7 separate regions of the Homo sapiens genome follow, and all the other regions are linked to region 1. The links are contacts of gene promoters, found by promoter capture Hi-C in blood cells and fetal thymus (Javierre and others, 2016). All regions are on one chromosome and are shown on one strand. Each heading gives the region's core, a stretch centred on a gene start or on the middle of the fragment in contact. The rest is flanking DNA. Distances are from core to core; before and after follow the strand shown. Region 1 holds the start of YTHDC2 (YTH N6-methyladenosine RNA binding protein C2). Region 2 has its middle 76 kb from the start of LINC02200. Region 3 has its middle 38 kb from the start of APC. Region 4 has its middle 2.6 kb from the start of APC. Region 5 overlaps APC (APC regulator of Wnt signaling pathway). Region 6 overlaps APC (APC regulator of Wnt signaling pathway). Region 7 overlaps APC (APC regulator of Wnt signaling pathway).

Region 1 (3,851 bases), core at 391-2,890:
CTGACTGAGTCGATGAATAAAGGCTCTTTCAGTACTGGTCAAAGAAGAAGGAAATTCCATTTCTACACGGAAAAAAAACAAAGTAGTAAAATTTGTAGATAGGCAATTTTCTCTCAAGTAAAACACACAGATACAAAATATGAAAAACATACATAGACAATCAAATTTATTATACTTTATTTGAGGTTAACTTTATATTTCATATTCTATTTATGTAAATTAATAAAATTAAGATATTTTATTAATTCAATAACTACTGAATGTCTATCAGAATTCTGATATTAATAAAAAGACAGCTATGTATTAAACCTAAATGTGATAAAGGCCTCTGATATTCACCAAAAACGACTCCTCTTACTTGTTCTGGAATTTTGAGTTGGTATAATGACTGAACATATTTAACTTGGTCCCTACTTGTTTAGTTAACAAAATGTTTATTTTCTTCAATGATGAGATATGTTCAAATATTATGAATTCTCAACATGAAACTCCATTGTCTTTGCTTTCAAAACTGTACAGAATTCGTATTTCACTATTTCAGAGGGATTTGTTATATATTGCTGAGGCTTTCTCTTTTTTTAATGTGAATTTAGAATCTCTCTGTCTAGAACATTCCCCGTTTTGGACTATAAGATTCCAGAGTAAGAGGTCCCCTAACTAAGCCAGCAGGTCCGAATGAGCCCTCAACAGACTGCACAGGTCACCGCAGGTCAGTTGCTGGTTCTGCATTATATGACCCAAGACAAGTGGCTATCTAACCTCAAGAGGTGTGGAAGATGCTTCGTGTGCCAAACAAGTTTAATTTAAGTGGGTAGCGTGATGCTTCAGGGTCCAAACGTATTGCTGGTGCATTTATTTATATGTTTGATTTCTTTCTGCTCTTCTACATCTGTAGCTTAAACGTGCCACAATTAGGTGACACCCCCTTAAAAAGGGTTAGGGCTAACCAATATCTGAAACACGGTGGCTTAACCGCCCAAGGCTGCTGAAAGACGCGGGGGAAAAACACTTTCAGCTAGGGAGCAAAGTGCCCATAACCCCATTGATCCGCAGAGCACCTCGCATTCCACCGCAGGGCCAACAGCCGCGTTCCAGACCCGGGTGCCGCCGCTGAGGCCCGCCCCGGACGGTGGCCCGGGTCTTCCCTCCCTCTTCGGAGGCACCCCCATCACTCGGTGGGCCGCCGTTTGGGGGGCGCTGGGGTGAGGGGGGTATCCTGACTGCCAGCATGGTCCCTGTCCGGAACCTCACCTCTCTGGTCCCCGTATCGGAAGCGCTCCAGCGCGATATTGACTGCGATCTTCACCTCCTCATCAATGCGAATGTCCTTCAGCCCCTTGGCCCGGCCGCCGCCCCCAGGGCCACAAGGCGAGGGGCCGCCGCCTCCGCCACCGCCAGGAGCCGGCTGCCGCGGGGAGACGCTGCTCGGCCTGGACATTGCCCTGAAGAGATGGTCTCTCCGCACGGGAGCGGCCAGGCCTGCTAGCTGACAGCCAATGACAAAGACCGTGGGAATCCGGGGCCACTACCGGGAAGCTCCGGAGACGGCCTGTGTTGGGCTGAGGTCACCAGAAAGGCCTCAGTCACCGCCACAGCAGAAGTGAAGCCTGCGCCATTGATATCACGGCCAGGCGAGGAGCGCGGGCGTAATGACGTCACCAGGGCCGGCGCCCGTGACCTCAGCGCGGCCGCCGCTGCGCGCCTAAAGGAGGCTGTCTGCGGAGCTATGGTGCGGTTCTCTTCCCGCGCCGCCCACCAAGGGTCGCTCCTCATCTTCTTATTCACTCACTTGCTACTTCGTTTAGTCCTTCATTAATTCCTGCAGTAAGCATGTATGGGCTTCTACTGTGGACCTGGCATTATGCCACGCCTTCGATGTACATTGGAGAACCAGAGAGCCAAGGTTCCTACCTTCATGGAGTTTATATTTTAGTGGGAGGAGGGTTGCCAGATTTAGCAAATAAAAATACAGAATGCTTAATAATTTGCATTTCAGATAAACGAATAATTTTTAGTGTATATATTTCCCATGCAATATTTGGAAAAATATCATAAAAAATACATATACTAAAGAATGAGCCACTGTTGTGTGTCTTGCATTCTTCCCTTTTCTGAATGGGAGATTTTAATGCAAGTATGCCACCCTTGCTCTATCACGCTACACAGGGTAGCTGAGTGGGGGCAGGTATGTAGTACATATTTACATAGTTCATGAGTTACCTGGCAATGAGGATATACATCTGGATCTAATAAAGAGGACTGTGTATCAACAACAGATCCTGGATGCAGTGACTAGATAGAATTCCAGGTGTCTGGGGAGGGTATATGTGTATTCTGTGTGTGGTAAGAAGGGGGCGGAATATTTGGTGACAAGAAGTATCTTTTCTTCCTAGGCATTATATTTCCCAACTCTCCTGCAGTTAGCTGGGGGCCACATGGCTGAGTTCCGGCCATTGGAATGTTGCTGGAACTGATGTATACCACTTCCAGGATTGGTCTATAACACCTTCCTTGAATCTTCCCTTCTCTGTCTTTCCTGGTCTTCTGGAAGTTCTTAGACAACGGTGGAACCACTAGATAGATAACAGGTTCCCGATTCCCTGAACGAGTGTGATAGAGTGTCCTCACCAACCCACATTGGAATATGACATGGGTAAGAAATAATTCTTAGTTGTGGTAAACTGCTGAGATTTGGGAAGATTTTTTTTTGTAACATTATGGTAAATTGTTGAATTCATCAAAGGTATGGCCTTTGATGAATCACACATTCCTCTGTTCACACCCTTGTATTCTTCCTTCCCACATGGACTCTGTCTTTGGCTATGTAACTTGCTTTGGCCATTGGGACATCAGCAAATACGAGATAAGCAGGGGCTTGAAAGGTGTTTGTGCATTAAGGCTTAGCCTGTTTTGCTGCTGAGAATTCTTCTTCCACAAAGTAAAGAAGCTTAGGCTAGCCCACTGACAACTATGGCCCAATCATCCACCAGCACCAAGGGCAAGACGTGAAAAAGGCCATAATGGAAAGTCTAGTCTTAGAAAAGCTGCTGGATGACCACAACTCTGTAAGCAACCCAAAGCAAGATTAGCAAAACCACCTAGCTAAACATAGTCCAAACTGTTGACCCACAGAACACATAAACAAATAAAATGAATATTGCTGTAAGCCACTAAGTTTTAGGTTGGGTTTCTTACACAGCAGTAGATAACTGATACAAAGAGTTAGCTTATTCTGACTAATATATTTGTACAATGATAAGGCTGATCTTGGGCATAAGTGACTAGGCTGAAAGAACTAGCTTCACCCGTTCCAGTTTGTACCCAGTTGCCTAAGAACTGGGGTCATCAACATCTTGATATGCCTGTAAACAACTTGTGGCATACGAGCATGCCACAGCACAGTGGTCTGGAGACTGCTCTCTTCTCATCTATAAAATTGACCTGGTAGAGTAATAAAGTCTTAAAATATAACCAACATGATTTTATTATTGATGCTAGGGATATTTCCTCCCACCCTTTGCCCCCTCATCACCCCTACTTTGCCAGCCCTCCATCCCTTTCTCTCTTGTTCAGCCAGGTCATTTAGGGGTTATTATTTGGGGAAATATTGTCTTAAGTTGGTTTCGGTTCTCTGGAACTGGAAAAAGTCACATAGTAATACACCAGTAAGTTGCCAAAAAGGATCCTGAGCCCTGCTTCTCTTGGGGAGAACAAAACAAAAACCCTGAATGGTGTGGGAGATCCTGGAACAGAATGGCCTGTGCTACTTTCCCAAGGGAAGGCCAGAGAGGCAGCTCAGGAAAGAAGGTAGTGTGGTGTGCCTAGGCAGGTGAGGCGCAGTGTGGTATAGA
Region 2 (3,851 bases), core at 363-2,862, 960 kb after region 1:
CCTGCTCACACATACTCAGAGTGAGTGACACCTCTAAATGCATGCTTTTCCTCCTGGTCGAGATCCCACGGTTTGCATCTGGCCCTTTCTGACTAAACTGTGGTCAGTGGAAGGCAATCCATAACCCATAGCACTGCCCAGATCTTGTAGGCCTCACTTCTCTCACTTCTCTCACTTCATCTCCATGTCCAGGGAGATGGGAGAAGATGTGTTCTCCCTAATTCACAAAACCCTCCAGCATCAAGGGGCTTAGCCCTGGAATCTCACTTTGTGAGGCAGATTGGATCTGCTCAAGGCACCCAGCTGAAAAGGGCTTTGAAGTCCCTCATTTTGGGGGTCCAGTTTTACATCAAGGCCAAATAGAAAACCAGGTGAATGGATGCAATTGAACTTTCAGAGATGAGTTGATACGAGAGTCACCTCTACAGGACTTTCCCCTCTCCTTCCTTCTTTCCTGCCCCTTCAAATTCCCATACAGTTAAAATAAATAAATGAAAAGATAGGTGAGAAAGCAAGTGGAATCTAGGTGATAGGCATCTAGAGCTGTGCACTGTAGTTATTTCACCTTCTCTATACACTTGAAATTTTCATAAATGTTAGAAAATTGACTAAAGCAGAGTTCATACATGAGAGACCCACAGACCATGTCAAGCCCACAGACACAATTTACTTGGCAGCTCAGCGATATTTTTTATTAAATCATTTGCAAACATTTAAAGAGGAGATCGCACAAAAAAATCTGGATTTCCAGTTTCTGTAGACAAATCAGGAGATCTTACAGCATTGGCCCCACATTCCTGCATGGAAACAGTTGACTGGAGCTGGGTGGCAGCTGTTCCCTTTCGATGGGGCACATCCTCTCCTCTTGGATGCAGACCCTGCAACATATACATTCTTCACTTATGTTACTTGTATGGGCCAGTTTCTCAGGTAATGACATTCATCCAGAACAACCTCAAAAAGGGGAAAAAGTCATAGAAAAGCAGCTTATCGGTCTGTGAGCACTTGCGTGCCCACATGCAGTTATGTGGGAAAATGCAGTCCTACACCTTTGTTTTGTGTAGTCAGGTGGCAAGGCCTCCTCTTCCCTTCTACTCCAGCCTGCTGAGATGCCAGTCAGTGCCCCACCACAAAGCTAAGTAAGCAGAGCGGCTCATAAACAACTCTGGGTATGACTGCGTGGACAGGAAAGTCTTGCTTCAGGCTAACTGAGCCAGCCTTCATTTACTACAGAATGTTTGCCCTCTGACTAAAATGCCTTAGTTAGTGCAAGAGATAGACCAAGTCTCCTGTCAAATTGTCACCATCATTGTTTATCATAAAGCTTCATTGTTTGGTGCCAGGCAAAAAAGAGAGCCACACAGAACTCAGGTGTCCTAGAGCCTAAATTTGATCTGTGCATATCACAGTGGGAAATTCTACCTCTTTTGTTTTTCCTTTCTGGCCTAAAGGAGGTTTGTGGATTGAAATATTTTCTCAGAGGAAAATGGGTACTGGCCACAGGGTTCAGTGTTTCCAAAATGTTGCCTCTGCCTCTGCCTCTGCCTTTTCCTTGCACGGATCCACACTCTAAAGGATGCCTTCGTTGGGGTGTGCTGGGCTTCTGAGCTCTGTTCTGGGCTGAGAGGTCCTAGGTTGGAGCAATGTGAGTGTTGTCAGGAGCAGAATACATCCTCGGCGATAACAGCGAAGGTGAACTCGAGTCCCTTCGCCCTTTGGACTCTTCCTCCACTGCTTTCTATCGAACTTAGAATACAATTCATCTCCTTCCTTGGCCAACCAGTCCTTATGTGGTCTGAACCCGGATGGTCTTCCAGCCTCATTTTATCCCACCTTTCCCTCCCCTCTCCATGCTCTGGCTACACTGGCTTCTTTCTATTCTGAAACACCCAAAGCTTGTCCTTACCCAGGGCTGCTGCACTTGCTCTTCGCTCTGCCTGGACCACTCTTCCCCCAGCCCTTGGTCTGGCTGGCTCCTTCTCATCTGGGCTTCAGGTCACATGCCAGCTTCTCTAAGGCCTTTCCTGGCACTGTTCTCTTCCCCTCATGCCCTATTTCTATTCCATTACGGTGTTATTTTTCATTGAAATTATTACCTAAAATTATTTTCGTTTACTTGGTTAGTATCTGTCTCCTCTACTTCAGTGCAAGCTCCACAAAAGCAAGGACCTTGTCTCTTGTTCACCAGAGAATCCCCGCTGCCTGAAATAAACGTTTAATCAATGAATGTCCACACCCAGAGCGGGAGGGAATTCTAACAGTTGTGAGGCTGCTGATGTTCCTTCCAGTGAATGCTATGAAAAACTCAAGTCTATATACATTTAATCCTCCCCTAATTTGGATCTGCTTTTAAGAATGGCCTTTGGCCGTTTGTAACATCTGGATGCCAATATTAAAATAAAACTGGTGAAGAAGAAGGCTGAGATTTGATGGTTCCATGTATTTCCTTAAATATTATGGTTCTGTAAAATGGCTTTGATTGGTGACACAAAAGGCAAGGTTGCCCCCTAGTGTTTAGATGTGTAGATCTGTGTCACCAGCAATACCTTTTAAAAAACTGTGTGTATAGAAAGCCACACTTCCACAGCCTGCTGTAATATAGACCAGAATTTACCAAGGAAGCACAATTTCCCACAAAGTATCTCCTAAGAGACTCCAAATGGATACTTTCCATTCTCATGGGCTTCTGCCAAAAGTTGAGCTACTGTCTTTGTTAGCTACTAAAGAAATCTGAAACAACCAAGAGAGCTGTCTAGCTGAGTTTCACCAGATAGCACATTCTCCAGACTGTTTTCTTAAATGTCACCTTCCTTTCCCAGGCAAAGTAGGCTGATTATAAAGTAAGTAAAATCAATGTTAAAGAAAATAGCAACCCACCATCTCAACTGTTTTCCCCTTGGCCACAGAGGAATTTATCCTTAAAGTTCAGGAAGACATAAACCATTCAGAATCTTAAGTGGATGCAACCAAGCACAAGATTTCCCTGCACTGAAAAATCTTGGTAGTTTTAGGTGAGTATTTTTCATTCCTGAGCCATGCTGAAGACTGGTGAGACAAAGGAAAGCTGTAAAAAGTGGCTGGATGAGGGTGGCACCAGGGGAAACCATTTAATAAAGAGCCTGGGTTATTGGCTCCTACAGTATCACTCTGGGAAACTAGGTTATTAGAAATGATGGAAAATGGGTGGTGAGGTGAGCTGGTGGCTGGGAATAACCATGGCAACCAAACTATCCATTTTCTTATTTCGCTTTCCTTGAGACTAGAAATAGATCAAGTGTAGGTCACTGCAAACAAGTCCAGTGATGGTTTACATCTCCTGCAACAGCTTTTGCTGGCCTTTTTTGTGAGCATGTGAAGAAATGCTACCCTACTTTTGAAAAAATGTCATATATCTCTTGTCCCGACCACCTAGTTTGTGTTCTGTATATTGTGTGAATATGGTGTTCTATTTTTACTTTAAAATATGTTTTTTAAGAGTAAATAAGAAATAGTTGTGGAATTACAAAGCCAGAAGTAGAATGCTTTTTGGAGACCACCTACTCAATGCAGGAATTTTTTTTTGTCATGCTGAGAGATGGGCTCTATTTTAATCTCTTCAGTGACAAGGAACTCACTACTTCATGATATAACAATTGCATTGTTAAATTGTTGGAAATTCTTTATTATTTTTATTTATTCACACAGCTGATATTTATTTAGCACCTACTCTATGCCAGGTACTGTGCTGGGCACTTTGGATCTAGTGGTTAACAATATGAACTCTGAACATGAAGTCCCTGAACATAAAGAAGTTATAGTCTTCTCCTTGTAACTTTCAGGTGAATATGTGCAATTGAAACTAATGAACAGTA
Region 3 (3,851 bases), core at 794-3,293, 810 kb after region 1:
CAGAAGCTGGATGATGAGTACCATGAGTATTCATTATATTATTCTTACTACTTTTGTGTATGCTTGGAATTTTTCATAATAAAAAGTACTTTTAAAAAGACATCCAAGAAACTTCTGCTGCTAGATGGGGGGCTAAGTACCAGTGTTTACTTCCTTCTCCTCTGTATATTCCACTAAAATATCAGTAGCAGGACTTAATTTTTGATGAAACTAATGAATGTTAAGCTTCAAGGCTCTTCACTTGCGTGGGCCCTTTTCAAGGTCCTGGAAAATGCCTTAGCAATATGTTCATAAGTTTTTGTAAAATCTGCAAAAGTAGTATCTCTTAATCACAATTGGTTAAGGGCATTTCTCTTTCCACTTTGACTTACTGTCTGTCACAGGTCTGTTTTGTCAGGTGGTATTAGAGTAGCTGTAATAACTTTGGGTTCCAGCTAAGGGGAAGTTGAGTTTAAGAGACATTTTTAAAAATTTGGTCAGAGGATATTTATGTGATTCATAGTTATGTCTGTGTCTAGTATCTTATTGATAACTATCTTAGTGGAGTAATAACTTCCAGGAGTACTTCTACAGTCCAGTGCCTGACTCTGTCTGCATTCTAACACAATGGGGCAGGACCAGAGTTTGTGTTGTAACATGAACATGTTCTGTGGCACCTGAACCCGAAGTATGTATACAGCCAGAAGTTAGTCTATAGAAAATTCTTCCAAACTTTATAGCACATATGGAAAATGAACGTGTAGGTAACACGGAAAAAGAAAAGACATGATGGAAATTTTCCCAAATGAGATAACAATCTTAAGAAATCACAAGCCATTACTAATAACAAGTTGTCAAGCTGAAAAAAATCTAAACTATCAATAATAAAAATTTTGTGATTAACCATGTTAGAAGAAAGACAATTATATTTCTATTCAATCTATTAAATTATAATAAAACAAAATCACCACTTAAAGAGCATCTAGAAAAAAATTTAGGACAAAACTACAGAGGTATGTCAGGCAGTAAAATAATGCACTTGTGTTATTTTTCCAGGTTTTGTGATGCTTGTGGATTTTGTGTCAGCATTCTAGATTTATTTTTTCATTCTAAAGAAATATTTACTTTTTCACCTAAATTTATATTCAAACGTTGTATTTTTTTTTTCAAATTCAATGCCTTATCATGGGCCTCTGCAATTACAGTTAGAGACATCAACATCCCTCTCTCAGTAATTGATAGAACTACTAGGCAGAAAATCAGCAAATACATAGAAGACTTGAACAACAGAATTAATCAATAGGATCTAACTGACATTAATACAACACTCAGTAGAATACACTTTTTTTTTTTAAAGCATCCATGACACACCACATCTTTGGCCAGAAAACAAAACTATGCAGAATATGTCCTCTGAGCATAATGAAATTTAATTAGTAATCAATGAGAGAAAGGCAATGGGAGAATCTCGATACACTTGAAAATTAAATGACACACTTCTTTTTTTTTTTTTTTGAGACGGAGTTTTGCTCTTGTCGCCCAGGCTGGAGTGCAGTGGCACGATCTTGGCTCACTGCAACCTCCGCCTCTCGGGTTCAAGCGATTCTCCTGCCTCAGCCTCTCGAGTAGCTGGGATTACAAGCGCCCACCACCACACCCGGCTGATTTTTGTATTTTCAGTAGTGACAAGGTTTCACCATGTTGGCCAGGCTTGTCTCGAACTCCTGACCTCAAGTGATCTGCCCACCTTGGCCTCCCAAAGTGCTGGGATTACAGGCGTAAGCCACTGTGCCTGGGCTAAATGACACAATTCTAAATAATACCTCAGCAAAGAGGAAGTCTCAAAGGAAAGTTTTAGAAAATATACAGAACTGAATGGAAATGTAAATACAACATATCAAAATTGGTGGAATGAAGCTAAGGTGGTGCTGAGAGGGAAATTCATAGCACTAAATGACTACATTCAAAAAAATAAAATGATTACCTTAGAAAAGATCCCAAATTAATCACCTAAGTTTCTACCTCAAGAAAAATGAAGAGCAAAATAAACTCAAAAAAAGCAAAAGGAAGGAAATAATAAAGATAAAAGCAGAAATCAATGAAATTGAAAAGAATAACAATAGGGAAATCAATAGAACATGAAGCTGGTTGATAAACCTCTAGCAAGCCTGACAAAATAAAAAGAGAGGGGGCACAAATTACCAATATCAGTCATGAAACAGGATATAATTATAATTCTTGCAGCTATTAAAAGAATAAAAGGGAATACCATGGACACATGTACACTTATAAATTAAACAACTTTAGAAGAAATGGACCAATTTTTGAAAACCGTAAATGACCAAAGCTCAAACAAGATGAAACAGAATAGTCCTATAACCATGAAATAAATTGAACTGCCACTAAAACGCTCTGGAAAAAGAAATCTCCAAACCCAGATGGTTTCACTGGAGAACTCTACCAAACATTCTGAGAAGAATAAGCTCTGATTTTAAACATTCTATCCTAGAGAATAGAAGAAGAAGGACTACTTCTCTATTCACTTTATGAGGCCAGTATTACTTTGATACCCAAACTAGACAAAAACAGTAGAATAAAAGGAAATTACAGACCAATATTTCTCATAAACTTAGACACAGAAATCCTCAACGAAACATTGTTTTTTCTTGGAATCCATGGGGAATTGGTTTCAAGCTCCTGAGAATACCAAATTCCACAGATACTTGTTTCTTATATAAAATGGCACAGTATTTGCATATAATCCAGGCATATCCTCTGTATATGTTAAATCACCTCTAGATGACTTTATAGACATGCTCTGCTTAACGACAGGAATACATTCTGAGAAATGCGTTTGGTGATTTTGTTATTGTGCAAACATCATAGCATGTACTTACACAAGCCTAGATGGTATAGCCTAGGACACACATAGGATATATGATCTAGCTTATTGCTCCTAGGCTACATACTTATACAACAGGTTACTGCACTGAATACCGTAGGTAATGGTAACACAATGGTAGGTGTGTGTATATTTAAACATAGAAAAGTTACAGCAAAAATATAGAATGATAATTTTAGGAAATCATCGTTGTATATGTGGTCTGTTATTGACTAAAATATTGTTATGCACTTCATGATTGTAATACCTAATACAGGATAGATGCTATGTAACTTGTTGTTATACTATATTGGTTTTTATTTTTATTATTTTCATTGTTATATTGTTATTTTTATTGTTCTTTTTCTAAATATTTGTGATCTGCAGTTGGTTGAATTTATGGATGCAGAACCCACAGATATGGAGGATTTTGAGTGTACTAGAAAATCAAACCCAATAATATATTTAAAAAAAATATGACATGGCAAGTAGGATTTCTCCCAGGTATGCATGGCTAGTTCAATATTCGAAAATCAATGTGATCTACATTATCTACATACAACAGGCTACAGAAGAAAATTCATGTGTAATCACATCATTTGATACAGAAAAAGCATTTGACAAAATGCAACACCCTTTCATGATAAAACCTGGGTCTGTTCCCTGCCCAATAACTGCATAAAAGGGAATAAATTTGTGACTATTGAGAATGAAGAATGTTCCATCAGCTGATGAGAGATTTGGCAAGTGTCTAGAAGACAAGAAATGATGGATGAACCAAGGTGGAAGACATGCTCCAATCCAGAACATAAACTGCCTTATGGAGAGGCCCACCTGACGTGGAATTGAGGGAGGCCTCTGCCCAAAAGCTAGTGAAGAACTGAGGTTCTTAGTCCAACAGTTCATGAGGAACTCCCTGCCATCAATCATGTGAGAGAGCTTGGAAGTGACTCTCCCAGTCAAGGCTGCAGATGATAGCACAGACTTGGCT
Region 4 (3,851 bases), core at 1-2,500, 780 kb after region 1:
GACACATACATAGAAGTGCTGTTAGCTACTACAAATCTGAGGCTTTAATGTAGTATTTTAATGCAAATTCTACATTGCATTTAAATCGAACCAGGTGATGCTTAAATTCCCAATTTTATGAGGTTGAAGGACAAAATCCAAACTGTCAAGAATATATAAAGTTAAACTTAAATTCTGGTTTAAATGGGGGGAAACCAGTTTCTATTATCTATTTAAAATTTAAAAGGATACTATACTTCAAGTTTTCTTTGTTTGTTTTTTGAGATAGAGTCTTGCTCTGTCACCAGGCGAGTGCAGTGGTGCAATCTCCGCTCACTGCAACCTCCACCTCCCGGGTTCAAGCGATTCTCCTGCCTCAGCCTCCCAAGTAGCTGGGACTACAGGCACGTGCCATCATGCCCAGCTAAGTTTTGTATTTTTAGTAGAGACGGGGTTTCACCATGCTGGCCAGGATGGTCTCAATCTCCTGACCTTGTGATCCGCCCACCTCGGTCCCTCCAAGTACTGGGATTACATGCGTGAGCCACTGTGCCCGGCCTAAACTTAAAGTTTTTAAATGAAGCATATTATAATCGTTTCTTAATTTTCAAATAGTATGAAAAGAAGCAAGCTATTAAATAGCATATTTGAGGCAATTCCATTTGATTAAAAAATGTATATATTAGAAAAGCAATAGACACACAACAAAATGTCCATAGAGGTTATTCCTGGAAAGTGAGATTATGGAGCTATTTCTGCTGTCCTTTCGTGCTTTGTTTTTTTTCTCTTTCATTAGTCCCTGTGTTACAATGCCTGATATACAGCAAATACACCCCAAATATTTATTTAACAAGTGAGTTATTTCCACACTGATGGCATACTACTGTTCTATTAAAAGTTTAAATATATTTAGAAACAATTTCCCTTCATATTTGAAATAAATAAAAGCATGTAAATCAATTTGATTATATTCTAAATAACTCTCTTTTGAGAATGACTTCATTTTACAAAAGGCTTTCAAAATCCTCTTACTGAAAGCACATGATTCACTGCACAGGACTTATTTACAAGTCATTTTTTGTGACAAATTCAGAATAGGTAATTTCTCATAAGGCCTAGAACTTCCAGAAGGAAAACAGTCTTTCAAAACAAAGAATACCTTTTAAAAGGTCCTCAAAAGAACTTCTTAGTACCCTAAGACACAATTGTAAGCCTATTACTCTTGACTCAGACTATGATACAAGCTATTATTTAGTAAACCAGTTTGTAGCCAAAATGTTTGTCTAAATTTTTACTGCATGTATCATAGATATTCATCAGTGACTTAAATGACATAGTTGTAAAGAAAGCTACGACCATTATATGTTCATTAGTCACTATGCTTCAAATCTAAAAGAAAGCCAAGTTAAACATTTTGTATTTTATGTTGCCAATTACTCAGTAATATTTTTCTTATTTTTAGAGATTCCACAAAAGTTTAATTTGAATTTTTAAAACTGCTTAGCTATTTTAAAACTATAATTAAATATAGATATATAATCAAAGTATACTGGGCCAAATTTCAGCATGGAAAATTACTGAAGCATTACCTTGTCTTATCAAGTTTGCACATAGCTCAGAATAAAGCTCCTGCCATCTCTATTTGATTGAAGATGTTATTTACACTACATATACATATATATATATATATATGTATGCATTAAAAATATTTTCTGGGCAGGGTGCAGTGGCTCATGCCTATAATCCCAGGAATTTGGGAGGCCGAGGTGGCCAGTTCACTTGAGCTCAGGAGTTGGAGACCAGCATGGGCAACATGGCGAAACCTCATTTCTACCAAGAATACAAAAAAATTAGCCAGCTGTGGTGACACGCGCCTGTGGTCCTAGCTACTCTAGAGGCTGAGGTGGGAGGATCACTTGAACCCAGGAGGCAGAGGTTGCAGTGAGCCGAGATCTCGCCATTGTACTCCAGCCTGTGCAACAGAGACCATGTCTCAAAAGATATATATATTTTTTCTGATCAAAATGAAACAGAAATAAATTGTGTAACACTGTTTAAAGACCGCACTGACAAACATATCTCTTATTTTCAGTATCAGTGTTTGTTATAACCAGCTTCATTGCTTTTAGTAAATGGTTTCATATGTAAATGTTGTAAATATGAACATATAATTCAACTTAAAAAACCCTTCTGAACCTTCTGCAGCTACAAAAAAAAATGACTAAATAGGATTAATAGGATTCTTAATGTCTTAAATATTACATTCCCCAGCTACTTGGGAGGCTGAGGCATGAGAATCTCTTGGACCTGGGAGGTGGGGGCTGCAGTGAGCCGAGATCACACCACTGTACTCCAGCCTCAGTGACAAAGCAAGACTCTATCTCAAAAAAAAAAAAAAACACACACACACACACAAGAAAACCCTTTCCATTCCATTTTTACCTAGGCACTTTTGGCCTAATTTAAGACTTTTGGTTTAAAAAACTGACAAGAAGAATATTGACAATATTAACTAGTGTAAAATGAATTAAAATTAGTGCTCCTTTCAGTCGCCTTAATTGACTCTGGTGCTTTACTGATAAACTTAATCGTCTCTCTTTACCGAAGACCTTAGACATAGAATAGAGTTATGCCTACAGATATCAACAAGCTTTTTTTTTCTTTCAAAATAATAATTATGCATTGAAAAAACAGTTACTAGTATAAATTTAACTTCTACAGGTACTAAGGCATCAAATAAAGCTCAGATTTAGAAACCTTTCAGTGTTCGGATCTTATAGTTAGTTATGGTACGATGGAAAAGCCTAAGAAGAGATAAGTTAGATGTGTGCCTAACTGGTTCTGTATTTTTCATGGGATACGAGAACGAGGTGAAATGTTACAATGGCAATGAGATTTTCAGTGATGTATAAACTAAGTGGGAGATCTTGACCCACGTGTCTATCTTTATCTATATGTCTGTCTGTCTATCCATCCACCTAACCATCTCCCATTTTTTCAGGGACGAGGTCTTGCTCTGTCACCCAGGCTGGAGTGCAGTGGCATAAGCACAGCTCCCTGTAACCTCGAACTCCTAACCTCAGGTGATCCTCCTGCCTTGGCCTCGCAAGGTGCTGTGATTACAGACGTGAGCAGCCACACAGGACTGGGAGATATATTCATAGTCTTCTACGGGCAAGACTTACCAGTATGTTCTATGTTACCTCAAGGAGTGAGTCTCAAAAGAAGTGTTCCTAGCATCTAATAGAATCTTAATTAATTTTCCTCTCACCAATATCCTCTCTAATCAGCAAACACCAAAATAGTTCTTCACACTTTTGCTCAAGAACATTCCATGTCTTTCTACTGCTGACAGTGGAACAGAGACAGTTTGGAGTTTAGTCATGGAGTGCCCTGAGGTCATGTTAATTAGTCTTCCTACAATAAAATAGTTCCTAGGCGTATTAAATGTCCTATGGCTGCCAAAACAAATTACCACAAATTTAGTGTCTTAAAACACACATTTGATAACTTACAGTTTTGTAGGTCAGAAGTCTAAAATGGGTCTCACTAGGCTAAAACCAAGGTGTCTGCAGGGCTGCACTTCTTTCTAGAGGCTCTAAGGGGGAATCTGTTTCCTTATCCTTTCTGGCTTCTACAGATCCACTGTATTTTATGGTTCATAGCACTTCACTTCCATCTTCAGAGCAAGCAATGGTGGACTGAGTCTTTCTCATTCTGCAGGACTGACCTTGCCCCTTCTCAAATCTCCTTCTCTGACTCTCATTTTTCTGCCTCCCTCTTCCACTCTTAAGTAACCTCTTTAAAGACCCTTACATTTGGCCCACGTCAATAATCCAGGATGATCTTCCTATTTTAAAGTTACCTCATTA
Region 5 (3,851 bases), core at 853-3,352, 740 kb after region 1:
AATTCCTAACATTATTGAATGCTGTATGTACTGGGCATAGTGCTAAGGACTTTAAAAAAATCTAATTTAATCCTCATGATATCCTTTGAGGTCGTTATTCTCATGATCACTTTACTAACTAGAAAACTGAGGTTCAAAACCCAGCTTATAAAGCTACAAGCTGGGTTTAAGTCCTGGCTTAACCAACTTCTAGCATTTATCTTGAGGAGTACAGATAAAGGAAGAAGATATAAACTATGACTTTAAGAAGGTCTAGAAAGAAAGAACAGAAAAAACTAAAGGGGAAAATCATCAAAGAAGTAATATAACAGAAAAAAGCTGAATAAATAAATTTCCAGATCAAAAGGGTACAGTAAATATTCAGCATGATGAATGAGGAAAATATGCATACCAAAACATTCAAAAGCTTCCAAAGAGGAAAAATGGCCATCTACAAAGGAATAAGATTCAGACTGGTATCAAATTTCTCATTGGTACCTTGATAATGAAGAAAAATGAGTTTGAACCTAAACCTACCTGAACTATCAATCAAGTGTGAGAGCAAAATAAGTATACTATCACACAAGCAAGAAATCAATTTATCTCTCTCCAACACAGCAAGAGTCAAGAACACCCAAACATATTAGACCTAAATGGGAAGCATAATGACAACAGTGGTATGACAGTCTTGTAGCAGGCTCAGGAAGCAAATGGTACAAATTAGATCAGAAAAATTCATTGGCTCCAATAAAAATTTATTTATGAATAAAATGAAACTAGATCCTCATATTATCATAAAGGCACAAGTTTCTGCTCCCGAAAACATAAAAGAAAGGCAATTAGAAACTTGAGACAAAAACAAAGAGCTATATAAGAAAGACACAGTCCAAATAGCATCATCTTCCTTTAAACAGCACAAAGAGTATGATATTCTATCAATAGGGAGCAAAAATTAATTCTGGCATACTACTGACTCACAGTGTCCAACGACTACAGAGTCCTAAAAAAACCCACTTATTTCACATCAACATTATGCTTAATTTACAGAATAAAAAAACATGAAGACTTAAATATATATAGTATGATGTAACTGTTAACAGTCTTAACAAAATAAAGGTAAACACACAGTTGCCAAATCTTATACAGCGGGGCTTCAGTAGACACAGTCACTCACAGGAAAGAACAAGAAATAGAACTTATATATATGTATGTGTATTTGCTTATGTGTATATGTATACAAATTCGACCAAAGAATTGGTACAGAATTAAAAACTGGATGGATAATTGAGTGAATTTAACAAATCTTCATCTTTCAGAGTGGTGAGTCAGTAAGTCATGTCCAATACTAGCAATATAAACATATTATTTAGAGTTATAGAAGTAACTATCTCATGGGAAATGAGACTGAACATAGCAAAGGAATACTGATACTTTTCATTTATGATGCTTTATAAAGCTAAACTAGTGATACTAATGATCAGTGAGAGTTGAGAACCTTCTAACAACACCATGTTGATACCTCTTTCTCTCCAGATAAAGCAACTTTTTATAGAGTGTAATAAAGCCTGAATTAGAAGTTGGGCCATATTTTGGGAGAAAAACGAAAACAAAAACAAGACGTCTTTTCTACAGTAACAACAGAAAAGGCTAAAGCACCTTTAAATATTTTTAAAAAGAAATGTATTTTCCACTTGGAGTTAAAAGTCAGAATACTAGCTTAAAGTTACTTACAGTGGTATTATATAATAAATAAAACATGGGGATCATTGCATTTAAGTCTTTGAACAGAGAAATAAGCTTTTCCTAGATTTAGATGCAAAGAACTCTGGAAGACTAGCAAGAAATAATGTCAAGACAGAAACTAAGAACATTTTTATTACAAGTATTCCTTACCACTTACAGCTGTATTTGTTAGGTTTACTAGTATTTGCAGTAAAACTTATTTCAAAAATTAATATTTTTCTCTGAAATTCCCTCTCTCTGCTAATAAAATCAGGACTTTGCCTACATAAAGCAAAGTAAGGAAAAGAAAGCAAGTAAGGAAAGGTTAGTATGCATGCCCTCTGCCTCTTAATAGAGCTCAAAGGGGAAAAAGAGATGGAAGATTATGGACCCAAGTTCACTCCTTATTTTTCAAGATGGTGTTTCAATAGTCTAGGATCAATGTATGAAACAGAGACTTATGTAAACTTAAGAAATAAAAGACAGTGAAACATCATTTCTCGTCCAGATAATTATCCCTATTTTTATAAATGGGCATATATGAAACTGGAGAGAAAGTTATAAAAGGTCTTCTGCCTCTCAGGGAGATATGCTGGGCATTTCCTATATACTAATATTCAATTTTCACAACAATGCCACAAAGTAGAACCATATCTTTATCTTACAGAAGAAAATGGTACAAAAATTTAATGACTTAACCAAGGTCACAGAGATAATATGAAGCTTTTATATATTTTACCATTTTCTGAATGTCTAATAGAACTTTTAGAAATATAAAGATAATAAAGATATTCCTTAATATGTGCATTAAGGAATCTTTTAGGGGACATAAAACATTTGACGAAGTTCCTGATAATGATCTATATTTTGGTATCTGCAGTGAGATAATGTTAACTTTAGGAAGAGAAGAATTAATACACTAGCTGTGAAAAATCAGAACTCATTCCATACATCAAGCAATTTTTTTTCAGGTATTAAAACTTATACATTAAGAAATGTTTTGTTGGCCAGGCGCAGTGGCTCATGCCTGTAATCCCAAAACTTTGGGAGGCCAAGGCAGGCAGATCACCTGAGGTCAGGAGATCGAGACCAGCCTGGCCAACATGGTGAAATCCCATCTCTACTAAAAATACAAAAATTAGCCGGACGCGGTGGGGCGTGCCTGTAATCCCAGCTACCCGGGAGGCTGAGACATGAGAATTGCTTGAACCTAGGAGGTGGAGGTTGCAGGAGCCAAGATTGCGCCACTGCACTCTAGCCTGGGCGACAGGAAGACTCTTATCTCAAAAAAAAAAAAAAAAAAAAGAAGAAAAAAAAGAAAAATTTACTTTTTACTAACAGAAGTAAAAAGTAAATACTAGAGGCTAGGAAACACAGAGGGAAAGAAGAGATAAAGAGAGATTTGTTAAAGAATATAAAATTACAGCTAGATAGGAGGAATAAGTTCTAGTGTTCTACACTACTGTATAGGACTGTGTTCTACACTACTGTATAAGACTGTGTTCTACGCTACTGTACAGGACTGTGTTCTACGCTACTGTACAGGACTGTGTTCTACGCTACTGTACAGGACTGTGTTCTACGCTACTGTACAGGACTGTGTTCTACGCTACTGTACAGGGCTGTGTTCTACGCTACCATAGGATGAGCACAGTTAACAATATTACATAGTTTCAAATAGCTAGATGGTAGACAGTGAATGTTCCTAACACGAAGAAATAATAAATGTCTGAGATGACAGATATGCTAACCTGATTGCAATAAATTATATGTGTAGAAACATCACTATGTACCCCATGAAATGTACAATTATTATTTATAAAGTAAAAAAAAAAAAAAAAAGAAGTATTTCATTTGTGGCCACTTGTAGTGGGCCTTCCATAATGAAAAGAGTCATCTTTTACTGAATCTAGTAGTTACTGAATATACTTCAATAGATAATCAGAAATTCAATAAAAATCCAGTTACTACTTTTTTTCTTTTTTTTTTTTTGGTAAAGAGACAGAGTCTTGGCCAAGTGTAGTGCCTCATGCCTGTAATCCCAGCACTTTAGAAGGCCGAGGCAGGGGGGAATCACCTAAGGTCATGAGTTTGAGACTAGCCTGACCAACATGGTGAAACACTGTCTCTACTCAAAATATAAAATTAGC
Region 6 (3,851 bases), core at 782-3,281, 720 kb after region 1:
GTATCCTTATAATAAAACTGTTAATCCTAAGTATAGCACTTTCAGTGAGTTGTGAGCCATTCTAATGAATTACTGAACGTGAAGGGGATGTGGAAGCCTGGAATTTGTAACACACTGGGCAGAAATGTGAGTGGCTTGGAGATACTCAACATTTGTGGCTGGCATCTGAGGTGGGAGCAGTCTTGTGAAGGAGTCGGCTCTTAACCTGTTGGGGCTGTGCTAACTCTGGGTAGTTAGTGTGAGAATGGAATGGTACCACAGCACACGCACACGGGGTGGAATTTATAGACAGCTTGGCAGCAGTCCTGGTGGCTTAGGGACACCCAAAACTTGTGGCTGGCGTTTGAAGTGGACAGTCTTGTGACTGACTTTGTCTTTTACTTGTGGAGCTGACTCTAACTCTGGGTAGTTAGGATCAAAATTGAACCCAACTGGAGGATATACAGTGGTGTCAAAGAACTGGGGTCAAAACATAGCTGCACATATTTTCTTTTAAAAGGTTTAACAGGGGTCAGGCGCAGTGGCTCACGCCTGTAATCCCACACTTTGGAAGGCCAAGACAGGCAGATTGCTTGAGCTCAGGAGTTCGAGACCAGCCTGGGCAACATGGCAAAACCTCGTCTCTACAAAAAATACAAAAATTAGTCAGGCATGGTGGCACATGAGCTACTCGGGGGCTGAGGTGGGAAGATCACTTGAACCCAGGAAGCAGAGGTTGCAGTGAGCCGAGATTGCGCCACTGCACTCCAGCCTGGGTGACAGAAACTTTTTAAAGAGACTTACTTACATGGCAGGATTCACCAACAAAACAACCCAGCTAGATCATCCTACCTTTTTTTTTTTTTTAAGAGACTTAGTTCCACGTCTCTTAAAAAAAGAAAAGTTTTAAGAAATGCCTACCCTACTTCCCAGTTTCCAGTGCTGTTATTTACAAATGTAAAGGCATTTGCATTCCTGTTCCTTTATGTGAAATTTGTTTTCTCTTCCTTCTCCAGAAGGTTGTTAGAATATTCTTTTTATCCCCAGTGATTTGAAATTTCCTCATGATGTGTCTTAGTGTAGGATTATTCTTATACATGATGTTAGATACTGGAGAGACCAATTTTTTGGAAAACTAAGCCCCTTGTTAAAATTTCTGAGAAATTTTGATTTATTTCTCTAATTTCCTGTCTCCAGTTTCTCCATTTTCTTTTTGGAACTCCTTTTATTTGGATATTGAACCTTCCTAGAATGATCTATACTGTCTGGTAGTTAGTGTCCACTCATATTTAAGAGCGGGCTATCTATGAAAAAGTTAAATGAAGCTCTATGCCTGAAGAATGGATTTTGTCAACTATATTACCCTATAGGGTGATCTAGGTGGGTTGTTTTGTTGGGTGAATTTTTCCATGTAAGTCTCTTTAAGTTTTTTTTCTTGGGTTAGTCACATTCTTCTGATTTTTTTTCTCCCTTTTTAATGTTCTCTCAGCAGAATCAGGGTTAGTCACATTCCTTATAGAAGTTCCTTCCAGAAACTTGCCTGGAGATTATAAGCCTGGATGCCAGTGGGGGTTTCAGCATTCAGTAGGTAAATTTTCATGTAATTCAGTGTTTCGTATGATACCCTCACGTTCAATTAAACAAGGTTGACCCCTAACCAAAGACCCTTTGTTTACCCTCTCCACCTCTTCAGAGGAGAAAGCTCTCATCTTTTGCTGGGATTGGAAAGGAGCAGTCACCTAGCTGTACAGGGTTGTAGGGAGGTTCTGGAAAGTCCATCTGCTTCTTAACAGATTTTCAAATATCTTCCTGCTTTTAACCCTTTTTTACTCTCACACCCAGAGGTATCTAGTTGCTTCATGACTTTTCATTCCTATTGCTGCCTTATGGGTCAACCCTCTCTGATATGCTAGAATGTTATCACTTGTTTACCTGCTTTCCAGCTCCACGGATTTTACTGTGGTCACCTTCCCTGGTCTTAATGCCTCTTTCATTGTATCCTTTTACTATCACTTTAATGGGGTTTCTGGAGTAAACACAGGTAAATGTGTATTATCAATTCTTACTATGGATTATCTATAAAAAAGTTTACTTACTGGATAGTAGCCAAATTAAGTTAACTATTTGATTATATGTAAACTGACAGCTAAAGTAAGGTATCTATATTTACAGTTTTATAAATTTTAACTGCCTAAAAGTTAGATAAAATCAAAATAGTCCAAATCTTTGATAATTTAATTTCACGAAAAAAATTACGGTATTTAAATTCTCTGAAAGAACATCTATATTTCAATGGTGTCACATTAAATTATACATGTTTTCTTTTCTCAGAATAACTACCTATTTTTATACCCACAAACAAGAAAGGCAATTTACTAACCTCTGCTTCTGTTGCTTGGGACTGTAAAAGCTGTCGTATACGAAGTATGTCCTTTTCGATTTGCTGAATTCTGGCTATTCTTCGCTAAAATAAAACAAGAAACCTAATTAGTTATGTTTTTATTAATAATATTAATAGAAATAATCATACTATGGCTACCACTTAAAAGCTCAGGGTTATGTCAAATCATTCTCATTTAAAAAGCTAGACATATAAATATATTCACCCTTTAATAACAAATTGGGGTCAGTTCAATTTTTCTTTTCTTTTTTTCTTTTTTTTTCGAGACAGAGTCTCGCTCTGTTGCCCTGGCTGGAGTGCAGTGGCATAATCTCAGCTCACCGCAACCTCCGCCTTCCGGGTTCAAGTGATTCTTTTGCCTCAGGCTCCCGAGTAGCTGGGACTACAGGCGCGCACCACCACGCCCAGCTAATTTTTGTATTTTTAGTAGCGATGGGGTTTCACCATACTGGCCAGGCTGGTCTCGAAGTCCTGACCTTGTGATCCGCCTGCCTCGGCTTCCCAAAGTGCTGTGGGCTTACAGGCGTGAGCCACTGTGCCCGGCCCTGGGTCAGTTCAATTTTTTGTAATACACTGGACTTTATTCAACAGATGTCTAGATCTGCTTAGTAAAACTGGAAATACAAGTCATATATCAAATTGTATGTTGCATGAATTATGAAAATTGACACAATACACATTGTGAAAATTTATTCTCAAAAAATATTTCAACAAAGAGAAAATTACACCTGCATTTAATCTTTTATATTAATCGAGACATTAATACAATATAATAAATTTATATAAACATAGTATACCAGTAAAGGGAAAGAACATCTGATTTGTTTTAATAAATATCAGGGTCCCCAACCTTTTTGGCACCAGGGACTGGTTTCGTGGAAGAAATTTGTCTACTGACTGGGGCAGGGGAAGTCTCAGGATAAAACTGCTCCACCTCAGGTCCTCAGGCATTAGATAAGATTCTCATAAGGAGCCCGCAACCTAGATCCCTCACATGTGCAGTTCACAAGCGGGTTCATGCTCCTAATGCAGCCACTGATGGTGGCAGGAGGCAGGGCTCAGGTGGTAATGCTTGCTCGTGGCCTGGGGGCTGGGGACCCCTGGTTTAAACAGTAGGCCCAACTCTTCCCCAAAGTTACTTCTGTCATAAGTTAGTAGTATTTTTCAGCCTTTCCAAGTACCTAACTGTGGCTAAACATTATTTTTTCTCCAACACTAGGATCATAAAGAGGATAGAGCTTTTGCTTTTCCACTATATGGAGACCATCAACTGGTCACAAAGCAGTAACTACAGATTGAACCACATGGAATGGAAACAATGTGGGGAATATATTGTGTGTGTGTGTGTGTGTTTTTTAAGCTAGACTTCATTTTAACTTTTATGAATACTAGTGGAAGTGGAAAAAACAACTCACTTATGAATAAAGACTTTGCAAATGTCTCATAAAGCTAGTTTATGACAAATCAAACA
Region 7 (3,851 bases), core at 1,352-3,851, 690 kb after region 1:
ACTTTAATTTTTTTTTTTTGGCAAATAATTACCCTTAGGAATACGGATGCCTTTAAATGAAACTGTGCATGAAGAAAAACTAAAAAGTTTTGTTTTTTTTTTTTTTTACAAAAAATGATCATCTGTTCAATTTATTAAGTTATATAAAACTACTGATTTGTGTTTTTCAAAACATTTCTTACTTCTCGTTGATAATATCAAATATTAACTATACTAAGATTTAGTATTTTCTTTCCCCTGATTCTTTCCACTGAAAATGCTAAACAATGCCCACAATGGCCAACAATAGGAAGTCAAGGAGAAAACAAAGGTAAAGGAATGGGAAAGACACAAAGGAAGCAGTTAAAAAAAAAGTGAAGCAAAATGGTGAGGAAGTGAACAAAAGAGAAAAATGCATGTGGAGGCTATTCAAAATATAATTCATCAAATATTAATCATCACGGGACTCAGAAAGAAAAAGATGAATATAAACAGGCAATTCTTGGATACTACAAGTCTAATTAGGTCATTCATCTGCAAGACAGCCAGTACGTTAATATTTTTAATAAGTGATCTGGGAAGTTCAATATGCAGAAGAATCTGCAAGTTTGTAAAACAAAGTTCTGTCGTGGGTCAAGAATTCCAAGCCAAGGGATTTAAATGTAGGAAGATTTATGCAAAACTTTATTACTAGCAGGAATGACAGACATGTTTGAATGTAGGTAAGTGAAAATTAATTTGGTTAAAGAAAATCCAAATCATATTTAGGAAAATTTTCCTCCATTCACCTGCAACAGTGGCAAAATACAGAGACAGTGAACAAAAATCAGTCACTGTCTTTATGAAGAGCGTACAGATTGGAGCAAAGATAGATGAACTATGTAGAACCACAGGGTGATATAATAGGTGGACTTAACTTAGACCTGGGATTAGGCTCCATAAGAAAAAGGCTGAGGAAATAATCTTTTAATGTTTAAGTTGAAACGTAAAGGATGAATGTGTATCTTTCTTTTTATTTTTATTTTGGTAGAGACAGGGTGCCACTATGTTGCCCGAGCTGGTTGCGAACTCCTAGGTTCAAGTGATTCTCCTGCCTCGGCCTCCCAAAGTGCTGGGATTACAGGCATGAGCCATCAGGTCTGGCCAGATGAATGCGTATCTAACAAGGGTGGGGCAGGAAGAAGAAAGATGCGTTCTAAGCAAAGGAAACAGCATGTGAAAGGGCCCCTGGGCCTGAAATATTTAACAGCAAGGAGAGGGCCACAAAATGAGGCTATAAACATGGGTAGATGCCGGATCACATAAGACTTTATGTGCCACATTAAAGATTTTACGCAGAAAAAGGAATAATTAGATGCACACTCTAAACAGATTACTATGGTTTCAGTGAACAAAATCGACTATGAGTGGAAATGGGAAGAGAAGTAAGACAAAGTATTGTAGAACAGGAGAGACGATGGTGGCTTGGACTGGGGATGAAGAGAAGAGTGATGACATAAGATACTTTTAAGTAGCAGAATTAAAGCAGTCAGTTGCTATTTGCAGGGGATAAGGATGGCATCGTGAATGATTTCCAAGATTTTGAAATTTGAGCAACTGGATTGGAATTTCTGAGAAAAGGAAACTGGGAAAAGATAAGAGATTCAGGGATGGGAAAGATTACGAATTCAGTTTGTGACAGTTGAGTTAGAAGTGTCTAAAATACCACCTAAGGGAAGATGTCACATAGTCAGTTCAATAATGTGTCTAAAACTCAGGGAAAAAACTCAAATTGAGCTGTAAATTTGAAAACAAAAACAAAAACTATAACAGAAGCATAGAGAGAAAGGAAAAGAGCCTAGGGCAGAGCTTCAAGGAATTCCACCATTTTACACTTGGGTAAAAGAAAAGGAGCCTGTAAAAGAACTGAGAATTTTGACCCATGAAATTGACAGGGAAGACCTTAAGACTTGGCCTGGTATACTAATGAGATCCCCAAGATGTCGAGTATTTTAAAGCAGAGGATCAATACCAAAACAAAACAAACTATGCCTTTTGTCTGTATAAAATCTTGCCTGGTGTGACAATAACTGGGATACTTTCTTAAGAAAGATAAAATGCACCTAAAGAAGATGCCAAGAAGGCACTACATGATCAAAGAGTTGAGTACTCTTGTATGGAAAAACTAAAAATCTTAGGATTTGATACTGAAAATAAAGATTAAATAAGAATGTGGCAGATATCAACAGATTCAGGAAGAACATGGCTAATAAAAAAAGAACATTCAAAAAAATTTAGACTATCAGATAAAAGAGGAAGTGCTTTTTGATTTCAGGCAAATGAAAAGATTTCAGAGAATTTTGAGGCACAGAATAGAATTCATAGGTTAAACCTATAAATGGATTTGCTAAAATATGCAAATTCATGACTGGATTGATACAATTAAAAACTGGTTGCTCTAAGAAAAATCAGGATGTTTCATGGTAATGCAAAGATGATGAACATGTCCTTCTACAATTTTCTTGGTGCCTGTTAGAAAACAGTGGTCTAAATAGACCGGACTATTGCCCAATAGGGTAAAACTACCGATAGTAGAGCACCAACAGACTCAGGTGACATTCAACAGAATCCTTAATTTAGACTCTTATGAACAAAAGAAAGACTGATAATTTTAAAAAGCATATTGCTTTTGTTTTATTTGGTTTAGATAGTCACCATTAGCATGAAATGCCTTGTTCTAAAATAAATATCACAGGCTCAACAAGAATATTCTACTGGTGTTTCACAAAATTTCCCGAACATAAGAATCAGCCAGGCCACTTATCACATTGATTCCTAGGCCCTTCCCCTGGAGATTCTGTTTGCTACAGTGCCAGAAAATCCAGTTTGACGAGTGCCTCTGGGTGATCATTATGATTTAGGTATTTTGTGAAACACTAATGCAAATAAACTGTGAGTTCCCTGAAAGCCAGGACCAGGTCTTAATCATTATAAAAATCTAGTGCCTAGCACAGTTTCTGGGGTAGATTAGGGAATCAATAAACATATATCATGGAAATTATATTCTAAAACTTCTAATACTAATAAGTGCAAACTTAAATGACTGATAGCTGTAGAATCTTCATATATGTACAAATGACCATCCCAGCTGACTGAACTAAGGAATTCCCCTTTACCTATTTGGGATTTCTTTTCTCCTTATCCCTTACTGCCAAAACCTTGTGCTGTCTTGTACTATTATCTCCCCGCAATCCACACACCCTAATCCTCCTTTTGCCCCAGTGCAAATCTGGAGGTGAGGAGTGAGAAGAAGGTAATCCCCTGTGGCTATGTCCCCAGCAGTCACACCCCCAGAGGCCCCATCCTGCTCCTCACCTGAAAGCCCCTGCCCTAGCTCCTGTGATGAAATGCCCCGGGTAGCCTTCCTACCTGAAGAAGGAAGAGGAACAAATACTGAGTCTAGGTTTTATTTTGAAATCCAGATGATTAATGTCTCAGTCCTAGTCTACAATCCATTGGAATACAGGAACATTTACAGAATAACTTTTGAGGTATCTTAAAACTGAATGTTTTCCTGTTTATTCATTATTTTTTATCCCCTTCCTGTTATGATTAGCATTTTAAAAAATTTAAAATGTTCACAAATGCTGAGATTGTATTAACGAGGGGAGAATTCATAAGATTAACTGAGAATCCACAGGAGACCAGGGGGAGGAAAGAGAATCAGGTAGGCCAATTGCTACACCACTAGGAAGGAAAGCATGGCCAGAGGGCAGGCCTGAAATCTTAAGGTGCAGAGCCTCCCAAAGTGATGACTCTGAAGGAGACAATACTTTTGGCTGTTCAGGTTCTCTGTGTAAGAGTCTCATGACTTCATCACTTTTAAGATAAAT

Evidence for each region. Contacts are between HindIII fragments. The CHiCAGO score rates a contact against its expected background, and 5 or more counts as called.
Region 2: a fragment that was not itself captured here is called in contact with the fragment with the promoter of YTHDC2 in region 1 in 3 of 17 cell types (total B cells, total CD4 T cells and fetal thymus); the score reaches 7.7 in total B cells.
Region 3: a contact is called between a fragment that was not itself captured here and the fragment with the promoter of YTHDC2 in region 1, in 2 of 17 cell types (naive CD8 T cells and total CD4 T cells). The highest score is 5.7, in naive CD8 T cells.
Region 4: a contact is called between a fragment that was not itself captured here and the fragment with the promoter of YTHDC2 in region 1, in 4 of 17 cell types (monocytes, total CD8 T cells, naive CD8 T cells and 1 more). The highest score is 6.8, in monocytes.
Region 5: a contact is called between a fragment that was not itself captured here and the fragment with the promoter of YTHDC2 in region 1, in 6 of 17 cell types (fetal thymus, activated CD4 T cells, total CD4 T cells and 3 more). The highest score is 6.1, in fetal thymus.
Region 6: a fragment that was not itself captured here is called in contact with the fragment with the promoter of YTHDC2 in region 1 in 1 of 17 cell types (total CD4 T cells); the score reaches 5.8 in total CD4 T cells.
Region 7: a fragment that was not itself captured here is called in contact with the fragment with the promoter of YTHDC2 in region 1 in 2 of 17 cell types (naive CD4 T cells and activated CD4 T cells); the score reaches 5.4 in naive CD4 T cells.

What each region holds. Positions count from the first base shown.
Region 1 is chr5:113,511,483-113,515,333 of GRCh38, reverse strand. It overlaps YTHDC2 (YTH N6-methyladenosine RNA binding protein C2), which reads right to left and starts at 1,640. Exons shown (of 30, transcript NM_022828.5): 1 at 1,252-1,640; 2 at 1-62. The coding sequence starts at 1,438. It overlaps LOC124901046 (a long non-coding RNA gene), which reads left to right and starts at 1,676. Exons shown (of 2, transcript XR_007058905.1): 1 at 1,676-1,903; 2 at 2,394-3,475. RefSeq lists a silencer at 1,155-1,384 and enhancers at 1,337-1,838, 1,835-1,884. The HindIII fragment of the contact is 3,291 bases long and covers 1-2,949 here.
Region 2 is chr5:112,550,276-112,554,126 of GRCh38, reverse strand. No RefSeq gene overlaps it. Among named protein-coding and RNA genes, the nearest start is that of LINC02200, 76 kb to the left of the region's middle. The HindIII fragment of the contact is 571 bases long and covers 1,327-1,897 here.
Region 3 is chr5:112,697,961-112,701,811 of GRCh38, reverse strand. No RefSeq gene overlaps it. Among named protein-coding and RNA genes, the nearest start is that of APC, 38 kb to the left of the region's middle. The HindIII fragment of the contact is 3,631 bases long and covers 228-3,851 here.
Region 4 is chr5:112,733,321-112,737,171 of GRCh38, reverse strand. It overlaps a transcript of APC not described here. Among named protein-coding and RNA genes, the nearest start is that of APC, 2.6 kb to the left of the region's middle. The HindIII fragment of the contact is 2,763 bases long and covers 1-2,631 here.
Region 5 is chr5:112,768,206-112,772,056 of GRCh38, reverse strand. All of the region lies in intron 4 of APC (APC regulator of Wnt signaling pathway), which reads right to left. Among named protein-coding and RNA genes, the nearest start is that of APC, 32 kb to the right of the region's middle. The HindIII fragment of the contact is 648 bases long and covers 1,779-2,426 here.
Region 6 is chr5:112,791,038-112,794,888 of GRCh38, reverse strand. It overlaps APC (APC regulator of Wnt signaling pathway), which reads right to left. Exons shown (of 16, transcript NM_000038.6): 7 at 2,360-2,443. Among named protein-coding and RNA genes, the nearest start is that of APC, 55 kb to the right of the region's middle. The HindIII fragment of the contact is 9,096 bases long and covers 1-3,851 here.
Region 7 is chr5:112,822,843-112,826,693 of GRCh38, reverse strand. All of the region lies in intron 11 of APC (APC regulator of Wnt signaling pathway), which reads right to left. Among named protein-coding and RNA genes, the nearest start is that of SRP19, 37 kb to the left of the region's middle. The HindIII fragment of the contact is 7,562 bases long and covers 1-3,851 here.